Regions from separate parts of the Homo sapiens genome. Here regions 1, 2, 3, 5 and 6 are each linked to region 4. The links are contacts of gene promoters, found by promoter capture Hi-C in blood cells and fetal thymus (Javierre and others, 2016). All regions are on one chromosome and are shown on one strand. Each heading gives the region's core, a stretch centred on a gene start or on the middle of the fragment in contact. The rest is flanking DNA. Distances are from core to core; before and after follow the strand shown.

Region 1 (4,319 bases), core at 1,206-3,705, 2.0 Mb after region 4:
AAACCTCCCCTTCTTACTGTCTCATTGGATGGTACCTACATTCATGCATTTGACCAACTCAGAGAGTCTATGACTCAGTTCTGTCCCTTCTTCCCCATTCCCTCTATGGCTGCCCCATTTTCTCCCGCAACTGTAATAGCCTCTTAACTGGTCTTCTTGTCCGAGTCTTCTCTTTCTTTCCACCCTGATGTGGTTTTCAAAGATGGTTTGCAAAGATGCAAATCTGAGCATATCTCTTGCTTGCTTACAATCATTAAATGTCTTCCTGTTGCCAAAAATAAAGTTTAAATTCTTTAACAAAACCTGGAAAATTATCGATACTTGTTGCACTCCCCCCACATTGCCCTGCCCATCTTTCCAGCATCGTCTTTCCTCATGCTTGTGTTTCAGCCTTTTAGTTCTCCTTGGCCATGGGGCTTTGGCATACTATGTATCATGACTTACCCTGTATGTAGTCATAAAGTAACAGTTTTTAGCTGTTTCCACCACTAAAAATTAGTTGATTCCTTTTCCTCTTGTTTGTTTCACTGCGTCCCCCTGCTTACCTTTGAGGCTCAGCACAGGCTTCACTTCTTCAAGGTAACTGTCCTGACATTCTTCACTCACATTGTATCTGTTCCTCTGGCTCCCACACATGTCACAGCATGTTGTCATTGGCAACGTGATACGTGACTCCCTTTCGCTGTTAGTCAGCAAGCCCCCCCACCCTTTTTTTTTTTTTTTTTTTAGATTGTGTCTCTTCTCCCCACATCCCAGTGCCTAGCACAGCACAGTGCATGGTGCATGGCAGTTTCTCAGGGAGTTCATGGTCTCTGGGTCTAAGGCATAGGCGAGGAAGGGTTGGTGTTTAGGAGAAAGCTGAGAAAGATGCCAGGCGCAATGGCTCACACCTGTAATCCAAGGATTTTGGGACTCCGAGGCAAGCGAATCAGTTGAGGCCAGGAATTTGAGATGAGCCTGGGCAATATGGCGAAACCCCATCTCTACTAAAAATACAGAAATTAACCTGGTGTGGTGGTGCATGCCCATAATCCCAGCTACTCGGGAGGCTGAGGCATGAGAATCACTTGAACTCAGGAGGTGGAAGCTGCAGTGAGTCAAAATTATGCCACTGCACTCCACTCTGGGTGACAGAGCAAGACTGTATCTCAAAAACAAAAACAAAGCTGAGAAAGGAGAGAGGGGGGAAGAAAGAAGACTTTCAGTGGTGAAGAGTAATGAAGCCTGTCGGCAGGGCCCGTTATGTACAGCCGATCGATGTAGACACAGTGCATTTTGCTCAGAAAATATTTGAAGATTTTCCACTAAATGCTGGTTGCTTTTCTCTCTTGTGGAAACTTATGTTTTTACTTCTCCTCCTCTTCTATTTCAGAGAGTCAGGACTACCTCTTAGGTGTGTGTTCTTTTACCCCATTCCTTTCCCATCACTTAACAGTATTTTGCATCGTTAGCCTATTACTGCTGTCTCACTTTTCTCTTGTACTTGATTCCTTCCTTGTGCCTACAAACATGCTTAAGTTGCCCCTTCCTAAAAAGAAATCTTGTTTTCTAGATCTTCCCCGCTTAAGCAAATGCCCAGTCTTCTATCACAGCTAATTTTGGGGAAGCGGTGAATCTCAGTTTCTGGTATCTTTACTCTTCTTTCATCAGACCTCACCCCTTCACTCAAACCCTTCTTAGTTCCCCCAGGTTTCTCTCTGTGATACTTGTCTTTGACTTTTCTGATGAACTGTCCACCTCTTTATCATCTCTTTTACTGGATGTTGAGGTTTCTCAGGTTCTGGCTTCAGTCTTCTCAATTTAACAATTCTCTGTATGTTGTCTCATTAATAATGCCTTCATCTTCCACTTCTGCACAGAAAACTTCCAAATCTCTATCTCCAAGCAAATCTTTTGATCTGTCAGCCTGCTGGACATCCCTGTCTATCTGGTTGTCATGAGAACACCTCAAACTCAGCATGTTCCACACTGTATTTACCGTTTACCTTCTCATCCCCACTGACTGTGGCTTCTGGATCTTGGGAATGGCCCTTGCACCAAGTTGGCAAGCTGGAAATCCTAAACTTGTCTTTCACTCCCCATTTTCCGTAACCTTTCACATCTACTCAGTCCATTTAAATCAGCAGCATCTCCTATGCCCTTTTGCTTCTTAGTATTCTATCGTATCCTAAGTATAGGTCCTTTCCCTTCCAGACTATTGTAGTAGCACCGTGACTCAACTTTCTGTCTCTATTTTTTCTGCCTGCTTCTCTCACCCTTTGGACTATACTTTATACAGTTTCCAGAGATATTTTTCTAAAAATTGAAATTTGATATCATTTCTTGGTTTAAAAACATTCATTGGCTCTCTAGATCTTACGGATAGGTTCGTGGCCCAAATTCTTAGGCCAGCAGCAAAACTCTTCAGAGTCAGGCCACACCGCATCTTTCCAGCCTCAGCTTCTTTCACCCCTCTCGTACCCCTTCCTCTTCAGCCATTTGATGCCCCCAGAAGCCCCTTATAGCGTTATCACACTGTACTTTCACCCAAGTTCCCTACAGCTCAAAGTGTACTTTGCGTTATCTGCTTTTCAGACTCCAGGGCTTGCCTCAGTGATCAGTTCCCTGTGCTCCTCACCCTCCCCTTTTGATAGGATGCTTTATAGATTACCTTTCATACAGTGTTCGATGCAGTTAGAGGTAGTATACTGCCCAGGAGTTAAGAGTGTGAACCCTAGATTTGCCATCTGAAAGTCATGTGTCCTTCAGTGATGCATTTAACCTCTCTGTGCCTCAAATTTCTCCCTCTGGGGTATGTTAGGAGTATACAAATTAACACATGTAAAGTGCTTAGAATAGATTGGTACTGTTAAATATGAGCTAACGTCACATTTGATATTTTTTTAAAAAGAAAAAATCATTATGGAGTCTCAGTCCTAGAGATTCTGATTCATTAATTCTGGATGGGCCCCAAGATTGTTCTGTGTATTCTGGGTGGGAGCTGCAGTGCCCTGTTTCTCTCTCTAGCTTGAGAGCCTAGCACAGCACCTGAACCATTCTCTTCATGGGTTACTTATTGAGTACCTGTAGTGTGCCAAGCATTGCTGAGAGGCCGAGATGAGAAAACTTTTACCTTGTGGAGCTCATCTTCTAGTGGAGAAGGTGTACATTAAATAAAAACAGAAAATATATATGATGTGGTGTCAGGCAGTAGGTGATAAATGGGAAAAAAACAACTAAAAACAATGCAAGATAAAGGGATTTGGGAATGGATTCAATTTTAAGTAGGGTAATTAGGGAAGGTCATTTAAGTAGGGTGATTAGGGAAGGTCATTTACCTGAGGAGGTGATATTTGAACTGAGACCTATATAAAATGAGTGTATGAACTGTGGAGACATTTGGGAAGAGCATTACAGACAGATGGAAGGGCAGGTGCAAGGTGATGATGAGCTTGGTGTGTTCAAGGAGCAGCAAGGTATGCCTGTGCTAGAGTGGTGGAGGGGCCTGCGGGGAGATGAGCTCAAAGAAGAGGGCAGGAGCCTTGCCGGTAGGCAGGCCACAGGAGGGACTTTGGATTTTGTTGTGAGATGGGAAGCCACAGAGGAATCTGAGCAGGAGTTTATTTTTATTTTTATTTTTATTTTTGGAGACAGAGTCTTGCTCTGTCGCCCAGGCTGGAGTGTAGTGGCGCGATCTCGGTTCACTGCAACCTCTGTCTCCCGGGTTCAAGCAATTCTCTTGCCTCAGCCTCCTGAGTAGCTGGGATTATGCCCAGCTAATTTTTTTATTTTTAGTAGACAGGGTTTCACCATGTTGCCCAGGCTGGTCTTGAACTCCTAAACTCCTGAGCTCAGGCCTCCCAAAATGCTAGGATTACAGGTGTGAGCCATCACGCCTGGCCAGGAGCCTTTTTTTTTTTTTTTTTTTTTTTTTTGAGACGGAGACTGGCTCTGTTGCCCAGGCTGGAGTGCAGTGGTGCGATCTCACTCGGCTCACTGTAACCTCCCCCTCCCAGTTCAAGCAATTCTCCTGCCTCAGCTTCCCAAGTAGCTGGGACTACAGGCATGTGCCACCACGCCTAAGTAATTTTTGTATCTTTAGTGGAGACAGGGTTTCTAGATTAAATGTAGAGGAATATAGAGGAATGTAGATTAAATGTAGAGGAAGAGAGACTGCTTTTGGCCTAAGCAGTTGGGTGAGTGGTGGTTTCTTTACTGAGATGAGAAGCATTGAGTTTGAGGGAGGAGAGTGGGACTCAAGAGTGCCGTTTGGACATGAGAAACTTGAGATGCTCAGTACACTTGCAACGAGAGATGTTAAATAGGTAGTTGAGTCTGGA
Region 2 (4,158 bases), core at 1,204-3,703, 2.6 Mb after region 4:
AAATAGATGTAAAAACACAAAACAAACTAGAAACTTAAGAAATCTGTCCCTTTTGATTTTGAAGAGCTTATCCTTTAGCAGTACGGTTGCTCCAGCGACCTTGGTCTCTCAGAGCAGCAGCATCACCGAAATTTAGAGCTTATCCGATTCCTTCACTTTGCTCACAAGAACGATGTGAACTAAGAGATTAACTGACAGCTTCAAACATCATCCAACTAATTAGTGGGATACTCATTAAGTTGGTCTGACTGGGGTCACCTCATCACTGGGCACAGTCATCCTGCCAGCTACCCAGCACTGCTGGAGGCAGGAAGTTTATTATACTACTGGTTTAGGATTTTTTTTTAATCACGGAGAAAAGAGCCTCTAAGAATCTCTGCTGACAGTAAACTTGTCTTTTACTCAGTGACTTCACTCCTTTCCATATCACAAGCCCTGTCCCTAAGTCTCACCTCTAATTACCCCATCTGCCTCCTTAATAATATACCATCTCTATACCAATAATCTACCAATATACTACCAATCTACTATGCCATCTATATACCAGTAATACCCCATCTGCCTCAACATACCATATACCAATAATCTGCCAATATACTACCAATCTACCATACCATCTATATACCAGTAATACCCCATCTGCCTCCTTAACATACCATCTATATACCAATAATCTACCAATATACTAGCAATCTACTATGCCATCTATATACCAATAATACCCCATCTGCCTCCTTAATAAATGACTTATCTCTAATTACTTGACTGGAAATCATTTAGCCCCTTTGCCTATTAGTTACTTTATTCGTCCCATGTCAAAAAGGCCCGATAGCTTTTTGATTCATTTATTCCTGTTCCCTGTAATGGAGGATACTTCCTAGTACCTTAATCTTGGGGGCCACAGCACTGAACTGAGGTGCCCTAACTTGCCAACAGCAGGATGACAGCTCCGAGGCGGAGGACTCCAAGGGCTCCTAACCTGCTGTTTTCCAGAGGCACCCTCTTCCACTCAATTGGCTCTGCCTCCCTGCTCGCTCTGTGCTGAGAATTCAGTAAAACCTACAGGTCAAGTGTCGGGACAATAAGTCATTCCCAGAAGCCGAGAACAAAGATGTTCTTTTCGGCTTATCCTCGGCATTGCTGACAGTGGCCCTGATAAATCATTGTGAGCTTAAGTACCATGTGAGAACTGATCCTAGAATGGTGTTTCAAAATTTCCAGTTCAAATTTATTTCTCCAGTCTCCAAAAACAGTTAAAATCAGGCAGTTAACTTTGCAATGGTGTTTTACTTGCCCAAGCCCTTTCAAGTTTCAAAGAAAGATAAAAACATAACTTGCAACAATTTTTCATCCCTAAATAATGAATGAATGAATCACTATGGAAATACCACGAAACTGCTGTTGTGGTCACCGTGTCCCAGACTTGCAGTCAAAACTCCTAGGTTTTAATTTCAGTTTGGCCATCAACTCAATGAGCAAGTTATTCAATAGCTTTGCCTCATTTCCTATGAGAAATGCTACCAGAGTATAAAGATTCATTTACAAAACAATGTGAAAAACACTTTGTGCTTAAATTCTGTAACCGTTCTTATCTATAGGCTTTAAGTGCACAATACAAAACAAGTACAATTTAGTATTTCTTCTTCTAATCTACACTTTTAGTATTTAATAATTATTTCCATTTGTTACTGATAACCATGTCATTATTCTGACATGACAACAATTCAAAAATAAGGGACTACGAAGCCTCAATGACAGCAGATAATTTTGATCACCAATTAATGTCATGAAACAACTATTTTGAGACATTTTCAAAATGCTTTCTGTATCCCTTTGGTCACTAAATATTAAATCTGGCTTCCCCTGCTTTTAAGAAACCCTGGTTCACATGGCCATAATCATGCAGCTGTGCAGACAGTTCCTTTAAAGAAAATGAAAAAGTCTCACAAACTAAAATCAAGAGTAACAGTGAACCATATTTCAATTTATTGACATTGTCAATTTATGAACAAGACAGGATTTTTTTTTTTCCCATGGAATGAGATCCTTTTCAATCTGCCATAACATGTGCCCACACATCTTCACCTTGGAAATGTAGCATTTCAAGCTTTAGTCAGGGTCTAGGAGGAAAAAGAAAATGCAAGTTGCTGGCTAGTTCTCTGTGTTTTCTTAAAAACTCAACATGAATATAAGAAATAACTTCCTTATAGTGAACTGTATAACTGTGGCTATCATTCACATTGCCGTGGCTCAGATGTAAAAAGTGCTGGTTCAAGTACACAGGCTTAGTCAAGCAGGCATTTTCCTGCTGAGTAAAAGTAAACACTCTCCCAGAATAAAGAAACTACTTTGCCTTTAAAAGACACTAACATCTCCTTGTGCTAATGAGGTGGGGTCTGTAACCCTGAAGGGCATAACAGAGAGGGGCTAATGCTTTGTTTAAGGGGATCGGACACTACTTCCTGACCCCCAGGACTTTGCAAAATCTCAGCATTAGATGCAGTCTGGCAGCTCTGAGCCGAGTGAGGCTAAATGATTTTCTGTTAGCTTACTGTTAAAACAAAACAACCCAACATAAAACCAGGTCTCATTACTCAGAATTATGAGATTAGACAGAGAGCCCCTAGAAAAAGGGCTAAATTCAAAACACTGCATCTCCAGACTTGTAATAAAATATTTACTAATTCAAAATGAAAATGAAAAGTGCTTAGGGGAGACAGTTCCAATAAGTAAAATTGCTCATAACCATAAGCTGCCAAAGGATTAATATTTATCACATTTCTGTGCTATTATGGGTCTGAAGCTTTTTAAAAGCAAAACAAGAAAAATTAAATCTGAAAAACATCTCTCTGATAATTTGCCTTGCCTACTTTTGAAATAACAATGTCAAGAAAGTACTTTAGAGATCAAACCACTTTTATAATGTGGAACACAAAAGTCTACACTTATCAACTGTACAGACCTTTTTATTTCACGAGAATTTAACTTTACATCACCAACATCTTTGGAAAAGTAAAATGAACCAAACCCTCTGAAAGCATAATAAATTAGCAAAACAGTATTCGCTGCGGGGTCTTGCAGATTTTATTGCTTGATACAACAGCAGGACCCTTGCCTGTGCCTGTAGTTATTATGTTCGGGAAGTAGTGATTTGTGAGAACATTAGTGGTTGTGGGGGAAATAAAAATGTAAAGAACTGTAGTTTTTCATGCTCTTGGACTGTTATGTAACTCCAATTGCAATTATACAAGTGGGGAGTTCATCCTCCAAATTATTTGATTTGTGCAGACAAATGAAACAGGTTTAATTCAAATACGATGGCTCTCTACCTAAGCATTGCTAAATGAACTGAAAATCAATGTGCCAATTACTTCTGCTTGTCAGGGCCCAAGAAGACTTTCTTTTTATTAGGCCAGGGGACTTCTATAACCTGCATGCTTTAAATTATACCATCCCAATAACTAACTTCCAAATACACTGACTAAAAAATGAATAGAACCCAAAACTAAAATTATTTTGATCTTTATGGTGCTCCAAAAACTTAAGATGCAACTGTTCTTCTAAATAAATCCATAACTTACAGATTATTCCTTCTTTACTTTCACAATTTTTACGTTGCTGCCAGAAGTCTTCTCAGCATTTGCTTTGAATTCTGTCTTCAGTGCATCTCTCACTGCTTTTGCACAGATCTGGGAGTATCGGATGTAGCTGGGAGAAAATGAGAGAAGGTATATGGTTAATTATCAATATTCCAGCCAGACAGCTGTTACTGTGTTTTCGCTTTTCTTCCTGTACTTTTTATTTTGGTTTGGTTGTACCTTATTGTAGAATTGGATTTAAAAATATGACTAATGCCAAAAAGTATCTATACAAAGAAAAAGAACTAGAAAAAAATGTACCAAAGTATTAACTGGTGTTTGGATGGATGATCTTTGATTTTTCTTCTTTGTACTGTGTTTTCTCTTTAGTGTATATTAATTCAAAATGAAAGATGCATAAATGTTTTTAAAAATCCCACAGCATAGAAAAAAAGAGACTGAAATGTTTAGAGACTATAACATGAATCATGAATTCTCTCCTCGATTTCTCTCCTTAAAACTTTAATTATATTATTCTTGGAAAATGAGGTATACATAAGAGAAAACTATTTTGAATTAA
Region 3 (3,815 bases), core at 1,189-3,688, 2.1 Mb before region 4:
CCTCAAATTTACATGTTAAAGTCCCAACCCCCCAACATCTCAGAATATGATGTTTGGAGATGGGGCCTTTGTGTAAGTCATTAAGCAGTAGGTTCTAATCCAGTATGATTGGCGTCCTGATAGAAGAGGAAATTGAGATACGGACATATGCACAGGAAGACGATGTGAAGACACAGGGAGAAGATAGCCATCTTCAAGCCAAGAAAACAGGCCTAAAACAAATCCTTCCCCATGGCACTCAGGACAAACCAACTCTGCCAACACCTTGATCTCAGACATTTGGCCTCCAGAACCATGAGAAAACAAATGTCTAAGCTATGCAGGCTGTGAGATTTTATATGGCAGCACAGTCAACTAATACTAGGGGGTAGCTAACAAGGTAGACTTTTACTTGTTATTTAAAGTCTTTGGTTCTGATATTTTAACAATGTGTACTTCTATTTAAAATCAGGAAATTGAGGCCAGGTACGGTGGCTCATGCCTGTCATCCCAACACTTTGGGAGGCTGAGGCAAAAGGATAGCTTGAGGCCAGGAGTTTGAGACCAGTCTGAGCAACAAAGCGAAACTCAATCTCTACCAAAAAAAAAAAAAAAAAAAAAGAGGGAAAACACTAGCATGGCACAGTGGCTTATACCTGTAGTCTAACTATTTGGGAGGCTGAGGTGGGAGGATGTCTTGAGGCCAGGAGTTCCAGGCTGCAGTGAGCTATGATGATGCCAGCACTCCAGCCTGGGCGACAGACCAATACTCTGTGTCTAAAAAGGAAAAAGAAAGTCAAATTAAAGCATTAAAAAAGAGAATTCAAAGTCCTTTCTCACCTCCATTTGGCCTGCTCCTTCCTTCCTTCTTTCTTCCATACTCCCTTGAAATTTTGCCCCACAGGACGTCATGGATATTTCCAAAAGGAGGGTGCTTCCTAAGTGCTTGCCTCTGAGTGGCATTTGAGGTAGAACTTATGACATAATTCTTCTTGGTCCAATGTAAATATTAACATACTTCCCTACCCTACATGTCTAATTATGGTTAGCCTATGATTTTGTTGGAATCAGACTATGGACTTATCTTTGTTTACTTTTAGTATTTGTTTTTATCCTGTTCATTATTATACTTCTCTGAAGTTCCAGATCTGAAACTGTTTAAATTATGGGTCTTTGGTGGCAAGCAAGAGAAAGTGTATCTTGCTCTCTTAAGCAGAAAAATAATTCATTCAAGGGAAATAAGGGACCTAAAAGGATCCAAGTGAAAGCCATAGACTGAGGTTTGGAAAAACACAAGGAGCAAAGAAAGCTCACGGGGAGAGGGGGAGTTACAGCCAGAACTGAGGGGCTGTTACTTTAGGATGTCAGCGATGAAGTTAATCAGCCTATGATCTTTTTTGTTTCTGTGTCATTTCCTTCAAGATTCCACACTCAAAGGAAACAGCGTTCAATAAGCTTATCTTGGGTCATGGCCAGATCCCTTAACCAGGGAAAGGAAGGACACTGTTATTTCTACCATATTCTATCCAGCAGGGAAAGTACGCTCATTGCAGAGCTGACTCAGTGTACTTTTACCAGAAAAAGGAAAATCCTAACTAGCAAAGATTACACAAGATTCCTCTTAGATAATATTTGGTTTGCTTATTCCACACTGTAAATTTTCTGACCAGTGGTAGTGTTCTCTAGGAAGCGCTTCATATATTGCAATCTCCCCAAGAACAGGGCTGGATTTATCATTTTCTTGAGTGACATATAAGACAATAAGTGATTAATAGATGCCTAGAGTTATAATTCAAAATAGGTTTCATTATGTTTTGCCCTGATAACTTTCTTTATACTTATTGTGTGGTTTTCTTCTCTAGGTTGCTATAAATTTGGTCTCCTTGTTCAAGGTAGTTGTCACTGTGTTGACCAGGCCTTGCTTCTTAACTCAGGTAATTGAAAAATCTATCCAACATCCTCATCAGCAGAAAAAAAATGTAGACTGAGAGAGTATCTTCCTTTTGTCTGTGTGATTACAGACTTAAGGAAAATTTGCGTTAATTAATCTCTTTATAATGCACATTATAAAACAAATTTCCTAAAGTGTGGAATTATTTAAGTTACATAGAGTTATGACTCAGGCATTGGATTTTATTAACACCAATGGCATATTACATTGATTTGGTGTATAGTCATGAAGTTACTATTTATTTTTACCTAATTAAAATGTTAAAGTGGAGGGGTCTGGATTTTAATCATATTCCTCAAAAGCTACTTTGATACTGGATAAAATGTCAGCTCTCGAAATCCACAAACCTCATTATCCTCATTGTAAAAATCAGATATTCCAGATGTTAAATATATATCAGATGAGAAAGGATGTGGGTAAACCTGGTGTCAGAGAAAATGTGGTAAGCATTCCCTTTCATTCCTGCCTCCTCATTTAATGCCTATGCCAGGCAGAAGAAAAAGCAGCAATACAGAAAAAACACATTATTTAAACTGAGGTCTGAGTTCAAATGTGGATTTTACCATATCCTAGCTGAATGCAAGCAAATTACTAAAATTCTCAGAACTTTAGTTTTTTCATCTATAAAACATGGCTAAAAATGTCTATTTCTTACTGTTATCATTAGGATCAAACGAAATACTTGATATATCCATAGTGAGTACTCAATAAATGGAATCTATTATAATTTGACAACTAACATATTTATATGAGTCTTACTCATTTCTATGCATGAAAGAAAATACACGTTTGAGACAGATTAATAATTACTTGTTTGATTAATCTGTCTAGATCTATTTTTTCAAATGAATATGAAAGTTGTGATTGATAACTGGAGCAAATCATATAATCCATCATTTCCTAAAACATTTCTAGGGCACACCCATGCTGTCAGATGTAACAAAATGGGTTATCAGAAAAACATTTGCGTTCATACGGGATTAGACAAATCTTGATTGACCAATGTCAAACTACTGTCTTGACTGCAGGACTTTTCAGAGCCTTTAACATACAAGCATACATTGTGACTTTCCAGAAGCAAATAGAGTAAGCAGAATTTTTTAACTTATTTGACCAATGAGTACATTATCGTGGGGGTAGGGTTATTCAGACAACATTATGAAGAAGTGATGACATCGCTGTTTTTCACAATCTACTTGCAAAATGGCACAAGAAATGATCACAGCAGACAATCAAACTTGCCCAGAGCAGCCATTGTGAATTTAATCTAATTGCTCTTGAAAGCTGGATTTGTTTCTCTGAATTGAGTTGCAGCCTTTGAGGAAGAAACAAATTGCCTCCCCACTGCTCACACTTCTGCTCCATCTGTAAATGTTAGGAAATAGCATAAAAAGAAATTCAAATTCCTGTAGCAGTAAATATGCAAACACACATTTTCTGCAGATATAGCGAGGGCATCATTTTCCCCCTTTTACCACCCCAGAGTCCCTGAACAGGTTTGAATCTGTTGACAAAGCTTTTTAAAACCATCTAGCTGACCTTTATTTTTTATTTTTATTTTTATTTTTATTTTTATTTTTATTTGTTTTGTATGCTAGCAATCTGTTAACCACATTTCCAGGGAACTTGCATAGAGAGCTCCTTCTCTCTCTCTCTCTCTCTCTCTGTCTCTCTCTCTCCCGCTTTCTATCCTACTCCCTTCCTCCTTCCCTGCCTTCTTCGCTCTCCTTTCTCTCTCTTCCTTTTTTTCTATTTCTTATTCGTTGGCAGTCTTGCCACTGGATGTGCAAATTAAAACTCATTTAATCATCTGCATGCCAAGCACAAGGACTCAGTCAATCACGTTCTATGCCATTGGCTAGGTAATTACTTGAAATTTGCTATC
Region 4 (3,810 bases), core at 1,311-3,810:
GGCATCTCCATTCTAACATGTCCCAAACAGAAGTCCTAATCTCTCCCCACTCTCACCTCCCCAAATCTAGTCTCTAGACATCCTCATCTCAGTGCATGGCAAACCCATCCTGTCAGTTGCTCAGGCCAAAAGCCTTGGCATAATAACCCTTTACGAGGTTCTCTCTCGCAAACCCTTCATTTAATCCACCAGCATATTCTGTAGGCTCTGCCTTCAAGATCACTGCTCACCACCTCTACTACTACCACCTGGTCAAACCATTATTCTCTCTCCCTTGAGTTTTTTCCAACAGCCTCCCAATGGCCTCCCCACTTCCACCCTTACCCTGTCATGGTCCATTCTTAACACTGAGGCCGGCAATCTCATTAACAAATCAGATGTGTTGATCCTCAGTTCAGAAGACCCCCATGGCTCCCAACTCAATCAAAACAATGCAAACTCCTAACCTGCATAGACAGGCCTATTGAAGTCTCACAGAACATGGACCCTAACTACCTCTCTGACTTCATCTCCTCTTCTTGTCAACCGTGTACCAGCCACACAAGGCTTTCTTTCTGCAAATAAGTCCCCTGCCATAAGCATTTGCACTTCTTGCTCCCTTTATTACGCTTTTCCCCCAGGTGTGTAGTTCAGTCTTTCATTTCACTGAGGTTTCTTTTTTTTTTTTTTTGAGATAGAGTTTGCTCTTGTTGCCCAGGCTGGAGTGCAATGGCGCAATCTCGGCTCACCCGCAACCTCCACCTCCTGGGTTCAAGCAATTCTCCTGCCTCAGCCTCCAGAGTAGCTGGGATTACAGACATGCACCACCACGCCCAGCTGATTTTGTATTTTTAGTAGAGACAGGGTTTCTCTATGTTGGTAGGGCTGGTCTGGAACTCCCGACCTCAGGTGATCCACCCACCTCGGCCTCCGAAAATGCTGGGATTACGGGCATGAGCCACCGCGCCCGGCCTTCACTGAAGTTTCTTATCAAATATCCCCGCACTCTGGCCTGGGCAATGGAGTGAGACCCTGTCTCAAAAAAAAAAATTAAGATTACCATTTTACAATTAAGCAAATAATTCCATGATGAAGCCAGGCCCAGACTACAGGCTGCAGCCCTTATAAAAAAACAGTGGGTAAGTAAAAGTTGATAAACAGCAACAAGGAAATGCACACTTGTGTTAATCAAATATTTAATTTCACACATGCTCTAATGCTTTACTTCCCTTACAATTCTAAGTAGCAGTCTAATGAGATCACATAGGCCTAACAACATTTATTCAACATTCTTCTGACAGAAGCTACAGGCATTTGCTCCAATTTATTCTACCTTTCTTTCTAGGGAAATTGAATAACAAGCAGAATGGAATAAGATTCTAATCCAGAATTCTGGAGACAACGCCAAGGAGACTGCCCTTCAGGTGACTCTAATCTGCAACCAGATTGAAGAACCAGATGACTTTCACAGGATCCATTCAGTTCAAACCAGAAGTCCTACTATTTTGAATAGAAAAGCTGTTAGGCTAATAGCGCAGGAGGTTTATACGGTTTATTCCTTCCTCCCTCAGACCTGTGCATGTCTGCAGAGATGAAGGGAAGGACGAACTGAGTAGGTTGCTGAAAAACGTTTAATTCAAGGGACAAGGAAGGTTACGGAAGAGGAAGAGACATTACGAGAGTTAAGGACAGTGGCTACGTCTACCTCAGCCGGATGGTTCTTAGAAATGGAGACTCTGAGGCCTAACCCCAGGTCTAAAAAAACAGATTCTGCATTTTAACGTCCCCAGACGATTTGTATGCACCGGTCTGCATCCCTAGTTCTCAATGAAACCTAAGAATCATCTGGAGAGTTTGTTAATAACTAGACACCTGGGTCCTACCCCTCAGAGATTCTGATTTACCGGGCTCTCGGTGGAGCTATATGTTTAACAAGCACTGCAAGTTATCCCGGTACAACTGCTCCAAGGTCTACGGTCTGAGAAGTACGGACCGGGAAGGCCTCTGCAAGGAGGTTCTCATTCATCAATTCACCCACTCATCCAGCCAGGACAAGGGCCTTCTTAGGCTATTCTATCTAAAGCGGCCCCCGTTAAACCGCACTCCTGCTTTTCCTCTGTAACACCCACCCCAGCTGCAAGTTCTCCGTACGCTTACCGTCTGTCTCCCCACCCACTAGAACGTGAACTCCAACACAGCAGAGACCTTCTGTGCTTTTCTTACCCAGGTGATCTCGGAGGACAAAATCCAATCTGAAGCCCACCCACCCCTCCCGCGCATGTCAACACCACTCAACAAACCCCTTGTACCTCTAGCTGTAATAAGTAACAAGCAGTATCCTACAGGGCGCCTCGGTGCCCAGGAGCGGATGCAAAGGCGCTGGGCGGGCACAAGGCAGCGCCAAGGACACTCAGGGACGGAGGAACCGACAGGGGACTTGACGCTCCGCCACTCCGACCAGCCGCCCCTTGTCCCCGCCGTCCTCGTCCGCCACTGAGATATCCCCCACGGTCTACCCACCCGTCGGCTCCCACCTGCGACCCAAGGACCCAAGTCTTCCAAGAGCTCAGCCGTTAGAATTCAAAGGTTCTTCTTTTTAAATAGGAGTTAAACCCTCTAGCTAGAAAGCCGATTGGCCTGCGCTCGAGCGAGGCTGCCTTGTGATTGGTTGACAACAAACCCGACGCCTTGAGTCGCGTTTAAGGGCGCACACCGCGCGCAGGCGCACTTGCTCCCTAAGAACCCGGAAGTGGTGGAGCCAACGGCCAGCCAGACCTGTGGCAGTCCCAGCCCCAGGGTGCTCTCCGCGGTCGGCCATTTATCGGTGAAGCAACAGCCCCTTGACGTCAAGCTTGACGCATTGGAGATAAAGTCCAAGGAGGTGAACTAACCTTTGAACGTGCCAGTAAGTAAGATGGCGAGAAAAGCAAGAGAGAGTGGGACCGATCGATAGCGCAGCGGTCGGCTTGGCGCCCTTTCAGCGTGCGCAGTGAACGTGCGCTCGGAGCGGTAGATTGGGCAGGATTCGCGCCTCCATTTTTCCAGGAGAGAGCGGGATACCAAGAGAACCGGACCAGCTGGTACTGGGACACGGGGAGAGTAGCTGGTGCGGTCGGCTGGGGCATTTAGAGAAAACCACAGAAACGACTGGGGCGAGACTGGAAGAGTCGAGAGTTAGCAAGGTGGCATGCGCCTCTACTTTGCGTTTCCTAAGTTGCCCGGCTTGGCCTGCACCCCTTCCTCTTCTCGAAGGGCCTCGCTTCCATTCCCACCCAGTCCTTAGTTCGCCTCTGCATCCAGATGGTCGCGGCGCATATAGTGAGGGGGCATCTGTGTTCTAGCCTTTCCAACTGCGATGTATCCGGTCCTGGATCGGGTTCTTGTCCTCGTGTGCTCACCTGCAAATTGGGGATAATTAGGCTTCTGTTTACCTGGCGAGTGAACGTTCTGTGGGAGTTGAGAAGTTAGGGGTGGGCCACTTAAAATATATATATATATACACACACACACACATATACATATATATACACACACATATGTGTGTGTGTGTGTGTGTATGTACACCCGGGATGTGCTCAGCAGAAGTGAAGAGACCGGATAGAACAGTGGTGTAGGGGAACCAAAAATGGCTTCCCTCCATCCTTCCAGGTACCTTATTAGGACTAAGAGTTAAATTCACATAAGACGAATTAACAGATTACTGCAGGGTAAACAGGATGTGCATGTAAAGCATTGAGCTAGCATACGGAAATTATTCGAGTCATATTAACCCAACGTTAACAGTAGAATCTCTCATCAACTTTTCTTTGCCAGACTACCCACTTGTGATTT
Region 5 (4,155 bases), core at 14-2,513, 2.2 Mb before region 4:
GGAGGCCAAGGCAGATGGATCAGCTGAGGTTGGAGTTTGAGACCAGCCTGACCAACATGGCAAAACCCCGCCTCTACTAAAAATACAAAATTCACTGGGTGTGGTGGCGCAAGCCTGTAATCTCAACTACTCGGGAGGCTGAGGCAGGAGAATCCCTTGAACCCGGGAGGTGGAGGTTGTGGTGAGCCAAGATCACGCCATTGCACTCCAGCCTGAGCAACAAGAGCAAAACTCTGTCTCAAAAAAAAAAAAAAAAATCACATCAGGGTAAATAGTGCATCCATCACCTCAGGCATTTATCCTTTGTGTTACAAACAACTCGGTTACACTCTTTTAGTTATTTTAAAATGTACAATAAATTATTGTTGACTGTAGTCACCCTGTTGTGCTATCAAATATTAGATCTCATTCATTCTAGATGACTAATTTTTATACCCATTAACCATTCCCACTTCCCCGTCCCCTAGTACCCTTTTCAGCCTCTGGTAACCATCCTACTCTCCATTTCCATGGGTTCAGTTGTTTTAAGGCTTTTAGCTCCCACAAATCAGTGAGAACACGCAACATCTGTCTTTTTGTGCCTAGCTTATTTCACCTAACATAATGTCTTCCAGTTTTATCCATGTTATAGCAAATGACAGGCTCTCATTCTTTCTTTTTTTTATGGCTGAATAGTACTCCGTTGTGTATAGGTGCCACATTTTCTTTTGTATTTTCATTTTACTTTAAGTTCTGGGATACATGTGCAGAACGTGCAGGTTTGTTACATAGGTATATGTGCCATGGTGGTTTGCTGCACCCATCAACCTTCATCTAGGTTTTAAGCCCTGCATGCATTAGGTATTTGTTCTAATGCTATCCCTCCCCTTGCCCCCTACCCCTGACAGGCCCTGGTGTGTGATGTTCCCCTCTCTGTGTCCATGTGTTCTCATTGTTCAACTCCCACTTACGAGTGAGAATGTGTGGCATTTTGTTTTCTGTTCCTGTGTTACTTTGCTGAGAATTATGGCTTCCAGTTTAATCCATGTCCCTGCAAAGGACATGATCTCATTCTTTTTTATGGCTGCATAGTATTTCATGGTGTGTATGTGCCACATTTTCTTTATCCAGTCTATCATTGATGGGCATTTGGGTTGGTTCCAAGTCTTTGCTATTGTAAATTGTGCTGCAATAAACATATCTGTGCATGTGTCTTTATAGTAGAATGATTTATAATCCTTTGAGTATATACCCAGTAATGGGATTGCTGGGTCAAATGGTATTTCTGGTTCTAGATCCTTCAGGAATCACCACACTTTCTTCCATAATGGTTGAACTAATTTACACTCCCACCAACTCTTTATCCATTCGTCTGTTGATGGACACTTAGGTTGTTTCTGAATCTTGGCTATTGTGAATAGCGCTGCAATAAACATGGGAATGCAGACATCTCTTCGATATACTGATTTCCTTATTGGGGGTTATATACCTAGCAGTGCAATTGCTGGATTATGTGGTAGCTCTATTTTTAGTTTTTTGAGGAAGCTCTCTACTGTTCTTTGCAGTGGTTGTACTAATTTACATTCCCACCAACAGCGTATGAGGGTTCCCTTTTCTCCACATCCTCTCTGGCATTTGTTATTGTCTGTCTTTTGGAAAAAGCAATTTTTAGCTGGGATGAGCTGATATCTCATTGGAGTTTGGATTTGCATTTCTCTGATGTTCAGTGATGTCGAGCACCTTTTCATATCTCCATTTGCCATTTGTATGCCTGCTTTAGAAGAATGTCTATTCAGATCTTTTGCCCATTTTTAAACTGGACTATTAGTTTTTTTCCTATTGAGTTGTTTGTGCTCCTCATATACTCTGGCTGTTAATCCCTTTTTTCTTGCCTTATTTCTTAATTAAATATTAAACTAAATATTTAGTTTGCAAATATTTTCTCTCATTCTGTGGTTTGTCCAATGTAATTTTAAAGTCCTAAAAGAATTTAATTCACTGACTCTTCAGTATGTTATAACCTGAACTTCTTGGCTGATTTTATGGGCCTCAGTGTTAGACAGCACCTAAGGATGTGTCATGTTAAAGCCTCTTGGTTTAACCTGTCTTTGTTCTCACCTGCCATTGGCCACCTGCTCCACCCCAGCAGCTCCCACAGTGACCAGCTCCACACCGGCCATGGTGTGCAGACTTGCAGGGCTGCCTCTCCGTCCAGTTGGCTCGTGCTTACAGCCTCACACCTTGTTCCTCCACCTGGGGGCTTCCCTGTGGAAGGCTGAGGTGAGAAAAATTATGGGAGCCTCAATGAGCAACCTGGAAGTGTCTGGGAGTGAGGTCCCCGTGGGGCCAGCCTTTGAATGGGAGGCAGGAACTGGCAAATAAGAGTTCTCCCCAGCTGAACTCTCCTGTGTTCTGGTTAACACAGCCTCTTACAGGACAGTCCCCAGAGAGGGAGCAACCAGTCGTGCTTGATACCAAGCAAAGGTCGGCTTGGTGAGGCCTCCTGGTATGGGCTCTGCTGCCTTCCCTGACCTGCTTCATTCCGCTTTTTCCTCGCTCTGGCTGCCCTGGGATTGTACTCCTTAATGAAGAAGCAGTATCTAGGCCTTTGCCTTGGGGTCTGCTTTAAAGATTCCGGCTGGGATGGCTTCTAACCATTGTCATTCTTCTCCCCCAGGATGCTTTCCAATTTCTACACATCTGAAATGGATGCTACAGTCTCAAAAGGCAGCACTAATCATGGCCATGGGGGTAGTTAGCAGTAATACCAAGCCAGGGGAGTTCTTGAAGAGGAGATTTGAAAGATCATAACTTGGGCAGTGGAATTTCAGACGCAACTGGGCTGAACTGAGAAAGTAATCATAGCTAACATTTCCTGAGAGCTTACAATGCATTTTATTTGCACGTATTATCTCTTCTACTCTTTGCAACAAGCCTATTAGAGACACATTATTATTTTTGCCATGAAAGTAACTTGTCTAACATCAAAATTAGAAAGTGGTGCAGGTATGATTTGAACGCAGGCAGTCTGGCTCCAGTAAGCCCTTTATTGAGTCTTAAACACTTTACTCATGCAAGTCAGGTGACAGGAGCTGCAATGTCCACTATGAGCTGCCCACTCGGGGACACATCTGACTTTATACATGACTTGTGGTGATGGGTAAAGCCTGGTGCTTAGGAGAGTGGTCTCTGGAGCCAGGTTCACCAAGAGTTCGAACCCAGGCTCTGGTACTTCCTGGCTGCTGGAGCCTTGGCCAAGTAGCTTTGTCCTCCTGAAACTCTATTTCCTCTCCTGTAAAATGATCGATAACAATATTGTGTGGTATGGTGAGGATTAAAACATTTAGCAAGGTGCAGGCCACATAGTATGTACCCTGTCAGTTTTGTATGTTACTGTTACTATTGCATTAGTCCGTTTTCACATTGCTGATAAAGACATACCCAAGACTGGGTAATTTATAAAGAAAAAGAGATTTGATGGACTCACAGTTCCACGTGGCTGGGGAGGCCTCACCATCATGGTGGAAGGCAAAAGGCGCATCTTACGTGGTGGCCGACAGGAGAGAATGAGACGAGAGAAAGGGGAAACCCCTTATAAAACCATCGGATCTCATGAGACTTATTCACTACCATGAGAACAGAATAGAGGAAACCGCCCCCATGATTCAATTATCTCCCACCAGGTCCCTCCCACAACACATGGAAATTATGGGAGCTACCATTCAAGAGGAGATTTGGGTGGGAACACAGCCAAACCATATGAACTCTCATTATTATTATACTTCAGCAAAAGGCAAAGGTTAACGTAGGTGAGAGTTTAGGTCCCTTCTGGTCCTAAGATCTATGCACCTGAGGATTGAAGTGCTTCTCTCTCTCAAAGCCCCTATGCTACTTTCGGTCCCCACCATACAATTACATTTCCTCAAAATTCCTGCTCCGCTGTTCCTCAGCTTTCAACTCAGCCATTTCTCAATAAAGCTTTGAAAAAGTCAGAATTCTTTCTCTCTTTCTCTCTCTCCCTCCCCCAGTTTGGCCTCACCAAGTTCTAAAACATGCCCAGATCTGGCCCCTGCCTTGCACCCCAGCCTCGCTCCATGCTGCTCTGTCCTTTCTACCATGTCTCACCAGGCTCTTTCCCTCTCAGCCCTCCACCCCTGGGGTCCACTTTCGTCTCCT
Region 6 (4,322 bases), core at 1,121-3,620, 2.3 Mb after region 4:
TTATGCTTTTTTCCTATAAATGATGTTTAGTTTTTCTGTATCCTTTTTAGATTTCAGCATCCAGAACTGAGCAAAATTCTACTTTTTTGTGTTCTTAGTTGTATTAAAGTTAGTAAAACTAATTGTAAAAAAACAGACAGGTTTGACTTTATGCACTCCTAACAAAATACAGTCGTATTTCCCATGCATTTTACTTTGGCCTCAGTTTTGAGTGCCCCATCACGTTCATGCCTCAGGGCAGCATGAAATAAAGGAAAGAGCACTGAGAATTGAATCTGAGAATTGAGGCCTAAGTCCTGTTCTGCTGCAGGCTCAGAGTGTGTCCTTAGGCAAGCCTTTAATCTTTTCGGACATTTTTTGCCTCATTTGTAAACTGAGGGGTTTGGGTTAGGTGATTTCCAGCAGCCCTATCGATTCAACAGTATTTTCTCAAGTTCTGTTTTAATACATTGTTTCTCCTGACTTTAGCTTTAATTTGAAAAGGAGAAATTCATAGTCAACAGTGTTGTAGCTGTCAGTCCAAGGTTACTGACAGAAATCCTTAGAAGTAGCCCCAGTACTGTGCAAAAGTAACTTTCACATTATTATGCCAGCCAAGTGCAGGTTTTAAGGTAGCAACTCATTCAAGCAGCTTGGCTTTAGGAAACTGAAATGGATTTATGAAGCTAAACAATTATTCAAAACAAATTGTAAAGTCATAAAGAAATGAATGAAAGGTAGATATTGAGATGCTCTTCTGATCTGATGAAATTCTGTATGGATTTGTGTGGTTTCCTTCGATCTCCGGGAATGGATCTAATATAGGGGTTGGAGCTACTTTGTTAGTGTTTACTGCCTAATCTATACTCTGCTTTAAAATAATGCATAATCTATAATTGGAAGCTAGCGTTAATTGGTCTTAGATTAGTTTGAAACATAAGCACATTATTTTTAATAAAATGTGTGCTTTAGGAAAAAGGAAATTAAGGATTAACTATGGTTATAAGAAACCTGAGGTCCTTATTCAGGCTTGACTACAATATTAGCTAAGATTTATGGAGAGTTTACTTTGTGCCTGGCTCTGGGCTAAGCCCTTTCCGTGTGTAAGCTCAGCTCATCTTCACAGTGCTCTATCAAATAAGTACTATTGTTTTTCTCAGATACAGATAAGGAAACAGATTTTAGAGGAGGTAGGAAACTGGCCCAGTGTCACCCACCTGATGGCTGGGGGCTGTGATTGGAACTCTGGCAAATCTGGCTTCAGAGCCCCGTGCTCACCTCCTGGGCCACTCTGGTGTTGGCTGCATTTTCAGAACTTGTGCTGCAGATCCTGGAAAATGGAAGGACCTATTGTTTTAAAACAATTTTTTTTCTTGCAATAGGCTAGCATCTTTCTTTATCTCACTTTATGAACCTTACATAGTCAATTTTAACTTGCAGATTGAAGATTCTAAGTTTTAGTACAAGCTGAGTCTGTTGGAAAATTAGTTCTCTGTCTTTAGAATCCAAGTATGAAATCATTATATATTTCTCTTTAGATCTACTTGCTTTTCTGCTTTTAAAGATTCCATGGGAGCAGTGAGGCTTACTTTGAGAATAAGGGTACTTTGTTGGATAAAAGTGAAGCAAACTTTTATTTTGGCAGTAACGGAAATAAAGTAAATATCACTATAGCATAGACCTGTGTTTCCAACTCATTTTGCTCAACTTTTCCAGACTTCCTGAGTAAACACAGATGGGTTTCCACTTATTTTTCAGTTTTATGTAGAAAGTTCTTTAGACTATAAATTCCACATGCTACTTGGAGTTTTCAGTGTTTGCTTGATTGCATGCCATTGGAAGGTCAAAAACCTAGATTTAGACATTATAAAGATTTAGAAGGTGATGATGTGTAGTAACGTGTTTTCATTTGGCTTTATTTTGGTCTTTCTTGATGGTAATTCTAAATGTTTTAATTCAGGTCTTGACTAAATTTCCTGGTAATTTGGTGGCAGACAGAATTTTGAAAGCCTTCTATTTTTAAATAGCAGAATGGTGGGGAGGGTCTTTGAAAAGGTGACCTTAATTTAATATTCCTGATGTGGTGGTAGCTGCCTATCACAAGTAATTCCCTGAATTGTTAATAAAATTAGAGAGGCTGGAGGGTGGGGTGGAAAGAGACCTGAACACCTGGGTCTGTCCCCAGTCTGACCATTAACAAGCTCTGTGGCTTCAAGCAATGCATTTATACATTTTGAAGCTTAGTTTTCTTATTTGTAAGAAAAGACTTATTTCTAGCCCTAGAATCCCATGATTCTGATTTCACCTCTTATCAACTAATAATTGTAGAAATCAGAAGATCAGGGTGTGTGTGCTCGGTTAATAATCCAAGAGCATAGGCACATGTGCAGCAGAGATTTTAACCGAGGTTTGCAATAGTACATCGTTCAAAGATTAAATGCCAGGGAGCCGCTGCAGAATAGGAAGAAGACTGAGATACTCAAGTTAGGGATTTTGTCTTGCATCATGTTTTATTAATAAAAGATTTTAATGTTCTCTTAATGTTAAGCTTTTAAAAAATAAAAACATTTTTTCTTTGTAAAGTAAAAGGTAATTAAATCAGCTTTCCATTTGATTTATTAATATCGTCTAGTACTACTATTATGGCAGGGTGTGTATAGAGTTCTTTTTTGCTCTCATAGAAAATTGTGGAAGGAATGAAGAGGATTTGCAGCTTTTCATAATGTCATCTAATTGAATTTTTACGTGGAGTAAAGTTTGATTACATTTTTATTGCTATCATTGTTTAATAATATTTTGACCCTGATAGAGCAGCTTCATTTGCACTATTTTTAAATAAGAAAGTTATGTTTTATTTTCTAAATTTACTGCTAAACATAAAAAAACACAATTGATTATTGAATTTCACCACTAATTATTTCAGTGATCAATACTGTACAAAAAAAAGACCTAGTTGTTTAGATTATCTGTCATTAGTAAATGTCTGTCCAGAAGATAGAGTTCCATGTTGATCTAAAAAAGAACCTTTACTTTTCAATTGAAACTTAACCCTCTGGTGTCATGCTTCTCCCTTCCCCCTCCCCTTAAAAGAAAAAAATTATTCTTACCTTTTGTTTTGTCTCGTTTGCTTGCTTTTATAAGAGCCTTATGAATAACTGTATGCTTTCTAGCTAATAATAATACATACCAAGAGATGGTAAGAGTTTTTCTTTTATTTTGCCACCTGTGTCTCTCTCCGGGAAAGAGTGGTTTCTCAGCTCTCTTACTACCAGGGATGAAGCCGTGTCTGCGGGATGTAATTTGCAGAGACCTTACATATGTGGTCACTCACATGTTATCTGAATACAGCTACAGACAATTTTTGTGGGTCATTTATTTTTTAATTTTGTTGCATTTGCAGGTCTGATTTACATGTTAAAATATACATTTATTTAACATGATAAAATTACATTTTAGCTCTGCTCTCTTATTTTATTTTCCTGAGGGAAAATAGAATGTGGTATTGTATGTGATATTTGGTGTTTATGAAACAGATTAACAGCATATTTTAGTGAAACCAAAGCAAGTGTGTTTTATCTGTTTCCAGTGTATTTTAATATTTACAGTCATTTTTTGCTTGTTTCCTAGCTCATTTTCAAAACAACCACAGTAAATAAAAATTAAAGCATATATTGATGTAGCTTAATTTAAAAAAAAAAAAGGAGATTTTAAAATGCCTTGCTTAGTGGATCTTTATATTTAGTCAGCTTAAAATCTCAGTGTTTTCTCAACTGACCATGCCTTGTCTGTCTGTCTGTCCCATGCTGCTTTCTTTGTGCTTTCCCCAACTGGATGGGACTGATGGGGACAACATGTCTCTTCAGGAGCTGGACGAGGTATTGTGTTTTGAATATTTTTATATGTTGGGTAATTTGAGTTTATAAAATACCTACTTTTCCTGAAGTCTTTGCTCATATATAAAATGCTAACAGCTTATACATATTTAGCATTTGTTTTGATTACTTTATAATTTTTTTAACAGTTTAATATGTAGAATTTAATCTATTTTCACACCATGTGAACTGATGATTTAAAAAAGGCTTTGGGAAGATCGTTTACTAGTCTTGGGAAAGTGTCTTAACTTTGGAAGCAGTAAAGGTTGAACACTTTCTTCAAGGAAGCCAGAATGTTTTGAGAATTAATGTCTGTAGCTTCCTGATTTCTGAGAAGTGAGTCGTGCACTTCCTCAGGTAGACAGTATAGAAGGCCAGCATGTCTGTGAAGGCCCTAAATGAGAAGGACTGTAGCCACGGCAACTGTGGGAGGGTCTTCCTTGTCACTCCTGTCTGGAATGAGATGACACC

Evidence for each region. The method cuts DNA at HindIII sites, captures the fragments that hold promoters and counts their contacts. A CHiCAGO score of 5 or more calls a contact.
Region 1: a contact is called between a fragment that was not itself captured here and the fragment with the promoter of AURKA in region 4, in 2 of 17 cell types (activated CD4 T cells and naive CD4 T cells). The highest score is 5.4, in activated CD4 T cells.
Region 2: a contact is called between a fragment that was not itself captured here and the fragment with the promoter of AURKA in region 4, in 1 of 17 cell types (total CD8 T cells). The highest score is 7.6, in total CD8 T cells.
Region 3: a fragment that was not itself captured here is called in contact with the fragment with the promoter of AURKA in region 4 in 1 of 17 cell types (endothelial precursors); the score reaches 6.2 in endothelial precursors.
Region 5: a contact is called between a fragment that was not itself captured here and the fragment with the promoter of AURKA in region 4, in 1 of 17 cell types (M0 macrophages). The highest score is 7.7, in M0 macrophages.
Region 6: a contact is called between a fragment that was not itself captured here and the fragment with the promoter of AURKA in region 4, in 9 of 17 cell types (total B cells, activated CD4 T cells, naive B cells and 6 more). The highest score is 15.0, in total B cells.

Annotation. Positions count from the first base shown.
Region 1 is chr20:58,401,855-58,406,173 of GRCh38, forward strand. The region is part of intron 1 of VAPB (VAMP associated protein B and C); the gene reads left to right. Among named protein-coding and RNA genes, the nearest start is that of VAPB, 15 kb to the left of the region's middle. The HindIII fragment of the contact is 5,875 bases long and covers 1-4,319 here.
Region 2 is chr20:59,026,722-59,030,879 of GRCh38, forward strand. ATP5F1E (ATP synthase F1 subunit epsilon) reads right to left here. Exons shown (of 3, transcript NM_006886.4): 2 at 3,582-3,708; 3 at 1-2,120. The coding sequence ends at 3,585. SLMO2-ATP5E (SLMO2-ATP5E readthrough) reads right to left here. Exons shown (of 6, transcript NR_037930.1): 5 at 3,582-3,708; 6 at 1,957-2,120. Among named protein-coding and RNA genes, the nearest start is that of ATP5F1E, 3.5 kb to the right of the region's middle. RefSeq lists an enhancer at 2,093-2,623. The HindIII fragment of the contact is 696 bases long and covers 2,106-2,801 here.
Region 3 is chr20:54,339,460-54,343,274 of GRCh38, forward strand. No RefSeq gene overlaps it. Among named protein-coding and RNA genes, the nearest start is that of PFDN4, 130 kb to the left of the region's middle. The HindIII fragment of the contact is 2,012 bases long and covers 1,433-3,444 here.
Region 4 is chr20:56,389,655-56,393,464 of GRCh38, forward strand. AURKA (aurora kinase A) reads right to left here and starts at 2,561. Exons shown (of 9, transcript NM_198437.3): 1 at 2,514-2,561. It overlaps CSTF1 (cleavage stimulation factor subunit 1), which reads left to right and starts at 2,991. Exons shown (of 6, transcript NM_001324.3): 1 at 2,991-3,059. RefSeq lists an enhancer at 2,707-2,946. The HindIII fragment of the contact is 5,454 bases long and covers 1-2,828 here.
Region 5 is chr20:54,201,961-54,206,115 of GRCh38, forward strand. No RefSeq gene overlaps it. Among named protein-coding and RNA genes, the nearest start is that of PFDN4, 4.0 kb to the right of the region's middle. RefSeq lists an enhancer at 3,447-3,676. The HindIII fragment of the contact is 5,383 bases long and covers 1-3,955 here.
Region 6 is chr20:58,655,781-58,660,102 of GRCh38, forward strand. STX16 (syntaxin 16) reads left to right here. Exons shown (of 9, transcript NM_001001433.3): 2 at 3,843-3,854. STX16-NPEPL1 (STX16-NPEPL1 readthrough (NMD candidate)) reads left to right here. Exons shown (of 23, transcript NR_037945.1): 2 at 3,843-3,854. Among named protein-coding and RNA genes, the nearest start is that of STX16, 6.7 kb to the left of the region's middle. The HindIII fragment of the contact is 309 bases long and covers 2,217-2,525 here.